2 separate regions of the Homo sapiens genome follow, and region 2 is linked to region 1. Evidence: promoter capture Hi-C in human tissues and cell types (Jung and others, 2019). All regions are on one chromosome and are shown on one strand. The core of a region is centred on a gene start or on the middle of the fragment in contact, and the rest is flanking DNA. Distances in the headings are between cores, read along the strand shown. Region 1 holds the start of ZNF366 (zinc finger protein 366). Region 2 overlaps LOC102503427 (a long non-coding RNA gene).

What was found. Contacts are between HindIII fragments. The study calls those that stand out against the background at their distance.
Region 2: a fragment that was not itself captured here is called in contact with the fragment with the promoter of ZNF366 in region 1 in 1 of the 25 tissues and cell types used here (hippocampus).

Annotation. Positions count from the first base shown.
Region 1 is chr5:72,505,899-72,508,669 of GRCh38, forward strand. ZNF366 (zinc finger protein 366) reads right to left here and starts at 1,512. Exons shown (of 5, transcript NM_152625.3): 1 at 1,353-1,512. The HindIII fragment of the contact is 10,357 bases long and covers 1-2,771 here.
Region 2 is chr5:72,561,159-72,564,340 of GRCh38, forward strand. All of the region lies in intron 1 of LOC102503427 (a long non-coding RNA gene), which reads left to right. Among named protein-coding and RNA genes, the nearest start is that of ZNF366, 55 kb to the left of the region's middle. The HindIII fragment of the contact is 5,034 bases long and covers 1-3,182 here.

The DNA.
Region 1 (2,771 bases), core at 262-2,761:
CGTCTCTTTACATTGCTCGTTTTATGATGCTCCTAAAGAAAATCCTTGAAAAAAGGAGAAGAAAAAAGAGGTCTGACTAATGGAACAAAAGCTACATCACAGTCTAGTTCTGTCATGTTTTCTCATCCTTAGTAAGATGATGGTTCAATTTTGAATAAAGATTAATTACTTGAATGTGGTTAAAGCATAGTCTAGCCAAATTAATTTTTAAAATGAGAGTCCAGCTATTTTTATCTTATTCTTCACATCCCAGGTGATTTCAATCAGTAAATTTCATAGCAGTGAATATTTTTAAAAAGTATGCTTGGCCATTGGCTTTTACCCATTCGGCATCTCTCTGAATTAAAGTATTAATATTGGGAAACATAACGAGTCTCTCGGAGTGACCTTGCTGACCTATTTTTGACAACATGATTTCGGCTCCCTCATGGCTTGCGATGATAGGTGCTGGTAACATTATCCTTTATGACTAATCTAATTGAAGCAAGTTAGACTTTTAAAAACTAGTTGTGTATGTTAGCTTGACTAGCTTGCTACGCCCTATTTGGTGCTTGGAAAACCAGGCACTGGGTGAATGCTTTTCAATTGCGTCTGTAACTTAGTTTTTCCCTCCTACTGACATAAATGATCCATCTTAATCCTCCCATTCTAGCTGCATATTGTTTTCCAAAACTAAAGCTATATGCCCCAAAACCTTTGCCTTCTATCATGTGGCAGATGACATCTTCCACTGACAGTGAATAATAAATTTACACTCAACCCGCATGGGGAACCTGAACACATAAGCTCCCCACATGCAGAACTATTTCCAAGTGACATTCCCTTCTCTCTTTCCCTTCTACTTCAGTGATGCAGAATAACCATCATATAACAATTAACAATCCTCCTTTAGGGGGATGCTGAATGGAAAGAAAAGAACAGGAGAAGGGCACCTCAATCCAGGTAACGTATTAACAAAAACCCCAGAGCAAACCACAGTCCTTAACAGACACCCTGATAAGGCTCCCAGGACACAGTACTGAGGAAGAGCAAATTCTCCAGTGGGACACATCTCACACGCCAGTGGCTCCTGGTTCTCCCAGCCACATGATCTGTGCCAAAATTCAGATTTAACGCAGTGTCCTCTTTAGTCCCAATGTAATTCTATTTCTAGTTTTGCCAGCCTTAGTTCTGCAAAGCATCAGTATTCTCTTACCAAAAAAAAGTATTAGCTGAAATTCTGGGCCATCTATCACTTATACCCTTTGGTTAAGGACTACTCCCAGTAAGGTATTTTCTGTTGAAGATGCCCACAGCAGTATCCACCCAGGAACCTTGAAAAGGAAGCAGAAATGATTGCATGGGTAACTTACCAGCTCCTGAGGTCTGAATGGCTGCAGCAGCCCCACTCCTTTACCTGATCCCTGCTCTCTCTGTCTCTCTCCCTCTCTCTCTCCCTCTTTCTCTTGTGTACAGATTGCAGGGAACTTAAAGAACTCGCAGGGACAGTGTTTCGAATGACTTAAGAAAGAGAACAGGAACAATACTTCGTTCTCTTTTTCTCAGATGAGTACCTTCGGGAAGAAGGAAGGAAGGGAGGGGAGAGGGAGGAAGTCAACAACCCTTTGCTTTCCTGAAAAAAAATAAGGAAACAGAAGATAGACATCTCATTTTCTCTTAAACAAAATGTTGGAAGGGGCAAAAAAAAAAAATCTTTGAAAAAAGGAATTCCTCAAATATGTTCTCTGCCCTGGGAGCTTTAAAGAGATGAAACGCCTTAGTGGCCTGTCCTGTCCAAACAAACGGTGTTCCAGACAGGCAGGCTCTCCTGAGCCTGCAGCCTCTGGTATCTGGTTTGCAGAACTGACACAGCCGAAAGGGAACAAATCATGTCATGTCGACTTAGAGCAAGGGAGAGCTTGGCCTGTTGTGCTAACCAAGGTAAACCTGCAGCCTGTAAGACAGTGTCGGGGCTGGGCAGCCAGGACTCCTGGCTTTTCTTAGGCCCTTTGAAACACCAGCATTGCTGCAATTCCTCGCTGACTCTAGATCCTTAGAGTTTTTCCAGGATCAAATAGCAGATTTATGCCCACCGAACTTTATACAGTGGACCCAATCCAGCTTCCATCACTGATGGATGAAAAAGGAAAAGAAGCAACTAACCACAACTGCTGCCGGCCATGGTTATCTCAGATCTGTTGTTTATATTATTCTATCCTCTACATTCCTAAGGCGTCTTGGATTTAATCACCTCTGGAAAACTGGAAGGAGATTTCTAATTTGTTTTCAAAATACTGTGAAGCAGCATAGGGTTTAGATAAATCAGCCATGGTGTTCGAAAAAAGATAGGGGAGGCAGGAGCAGTTAAAATGGAGGGAGTAACCTTTATCAAGGTAGAAGACTTGGGGCTTCAGCAGGCAGGCATGAGCTTGCTTAGGCTAGTTGCACTTAGGAATAAGCTTGGTTTTAACTTCTCTGATTTGTGTTATGTCTCTTGTGTCCCTTATTCATCTGGTTAGGACCATTTTCACTGTGAACAGGAACCAGCAGTTATGTAGACCTTTGTGGCAGCAAAAGAAAAACCAGCCTTACACTACTTCCTCATTTCACCCAACTGTGAAAAAAATGGGGTGGACAGATACACCTGATTGCAAAGAGTCATGAAAGTGAGTTCAGGGGAAGAATGATTCTGATTCAGTGACCCTGTAAGATTTTGATTGAGTCCTTATTGGCCTATAGGATTATGTTTTTATTCTGACAGATATTTTTCTATCATCTATCTGTCTATCTAT
Region 2 (3,182 bases), core at 616-3,115, 56 kb after region 1:
CTACCTCGAGCCTTGCCATTTTTTGCAGGTGTTCTCAATGGAATAGTTAGAGTTCCTGTAACAATATCAATTATAGCATAACATTTCTCTATTCAGAACCCTCAAATGCATCCCATTCCACTCAGATTAAAAGCAATAGACTTTTACAGTGGCCTACAGGGCCCTATGCATCCCCATCCCCATTATCTCTCTGAGCACATAGCCTATCACAGTCCCCTTCACTCAGTCTGCAGCCTTTACTCAATCTGCAGCAGCCACTTAAAGGTATCTGCCTCAAGGACTATTTATGTGCTAAATTTTACCTGGCAAATTCTTCCCCGGAAATCCTCATGACTCACTCCCTCACCTCCTTCAAGCCTTTGCTGAAATATTCCTGTTGTGAAGGCTTCTCTAACAATGCTACATAAAACTGCATCACCCCCTTTCCCTGCTTCCCTGCAACCCTTATCCCCTTTCCCTGCTTTAGTTTCCTCCATAGAACTTATCACCAGCTAACATATGTTATACTCAACTTGTTTATGTCTGTCTTGCTCAGCTCCCATTAGAATGTAAGCTTCAAAAAGGCAGAGATCTTTGTTCACTGCTGCATCTATGGTGCCTGGAATAATGAGTGCCTGACACAGAATAGGTCTTCAATAAATATTTGCTGGATGAATGAGTGACTGAATGAAGAGGATGTCAATGATGGGTGAAAAGTGTAAGTTTCCCCGATAAAGGGAAGATAGTAGGAAGGAGACAGTGACTTTGCAGATTGGCAACTAGAGCTCAGCTGACGAAGCGGCATATCTTCCTGGAAGTCAGTTGGGAGAAAGAAGTTTGAACACAGGAATAGTCACAGACGTCTGAGGATTCTTTGTTTTTGCTTATTAAGGAGTAGGTTGATCTTTGTCAGTTCAATATGGCCAAGAGGAAACCAGCAATCAATATTGGTGGACAGAAATTCTAATTATGGAACAATTGCATAAATTCACTTAGGAAGAGTTGGGCAGTATAATCATGGTACTAGTGAGAGCAGCTACATCTATTGAGTGCTTACCAAATGCCAGGTGCTTTCCAGGCTATACATGGAGTATCCCATTTAATCCTTACAACAAACTCATGAGGTAGGCACTACTATTTTCATCTTATAAGTAAGAAAATGAGAGGCTAAGCAACTTGTCAAAGACCATATACCTGGAAAAATGTCATTTGTTCATTTGGTTATGTTTTGAGATGAGACAAGATCAAAAATTTTAGGTTGATCTCTGTAATCTAAAAATGAGCCTATAGAATTGCAGATAACAAACATGAAGTTGTGGAACATGAACAGGCAGATGAGGTTTGAACATCAGATTTGCAACTCTCTGTCTATATGACTTTAGGCAAGTTACTTATCTCTCTGAGTTTAGATTTATCCTCATTTGTAAAAGGTAAAAAATCATACAGTTCTTGTAGAGTTGTCAACATTAAATATAATCACACATGGAAACAGCTAAATGTCTAACCCAGAGAAGGCACTCAAGAAATAGCATTATTATCACTATTATTATTGTTGTTGTTGTTATTAGTATTATTATTTTTGAAGGAATTCAGAGTCTACTCTCTTGGCTCCATACTTGTGAGTGCCCACACAACCATGCTTCGCAAACAGTGTTTAGAAAGTGCAAACAGTGTTTAGAAAGTGCAAATACCTGAGTTCTACACCCAGAGATTCTAATTTGGAGATGATGGGAAATCTCACTCTCAAATGGAAAACTGGCATTCTCTTAACTCCGAAAAGAACTTCTTACTTTCTAATGTTGTGCTACCTAATGTGTGCTACCTAAAATACTCATATGAAACTAACTCATATGAAACTAACCCCTCCAAAGCAGTGTTGCCTAAGGTTAAGGGAATGCATTCTGGAACCTTGGGCAAGCACTTTGAGCTCTCTGGGCCTCATTGTCTTTATCTGTAAAATTGGGATAACAATAATTCCTACTTCATGCAGATGAGTCAGGGCTTAAAATAAACTTGTAAAATAATTAGAAAGAGCCTGGCATAAATTAGATAATCTAATAAAAATAATAACGACAACAATTATTATTATTTGATTCTATTTTTCATTCTTCGATCTCCTCCTGATGGAAGGATTTTTTTTAAGTGGAGATTATTTTCAGTCCCAAACTTTGCACACAGTATCCCGGCTTGCCTTCACCACTGAAAGAGGCAACACACTGAGCCCACTTCCTCTGGAGCCTGTGCTAAAGAAGGTGGGGCCTGCTGAGCAGTTCCAGACTGGCCTTAAGGAGACTTGACAATGCTTCATATATTCACATACATGTGAATATATGTGAGCTTAGGACATTCTTTTTGATAGCTAAACTTAATCTCACAGATAAAAATTTCATGTATTCTAGTGTGTAGAGAAGAGGATACTAGTGCATCCATCTTCCCAGCTGCTATGAAGATGCAGTAATTCCTTCCACTGGTCACTCTCACCCACCCAATCAGGTCTCCACTCTTGGTGTAGCTGCTTTCCTTAGCAAAGAGGCCTTCTCTGGCTACAAACTCAAAAGCAACCCACTCACCTTGCACCTCTCCTATATTAATCTGCTCTCACATTGCTATAAAGGAATGCCTAAGAGTGGGCAATTTATACAGAAAAAGAGGTGAAATTGGCTTAGGGCTCTGCAGACAGTACAGGAAGCATGATGCTGCCATCTGCTTGGCTTCTGGGGAAGCCTCAGGAAACTTACAATCATGGTGGAAGGTGAAGGAAAAGCAGGCATTATCACATGGCGAGGGCAGGATGTGGGGGGGAAGGAGGTGCCACACGTTTGTAAACCACCAGATTTCATAAGAACTCACTATTATAAGGACAGTACCAAGGGGATGGTGCTAGATCATTCATGAGAAATCCACCCCCATGGTCCAGTCACCTCCCACCAGGCCCCACCTCCAGCACTGGGGATTACAATTCAACCTGAGATTTGGGTGGGAAAACAGATCCAAGCCATAATCACCTCCCCACACCCAGATGGACACATCATTGCTCTGCCATTTCCTCTATCTCAGCCCTTTGTCTACTTTATAGCTCTTATCACAATACATAGTCTGATAATCATTTCACTTATTTTTCTGCTTTCCTGTTTCAAGGCCGTGCCATCTAAACACACACACACACACACACACACACACACACACACCATACACACACACAA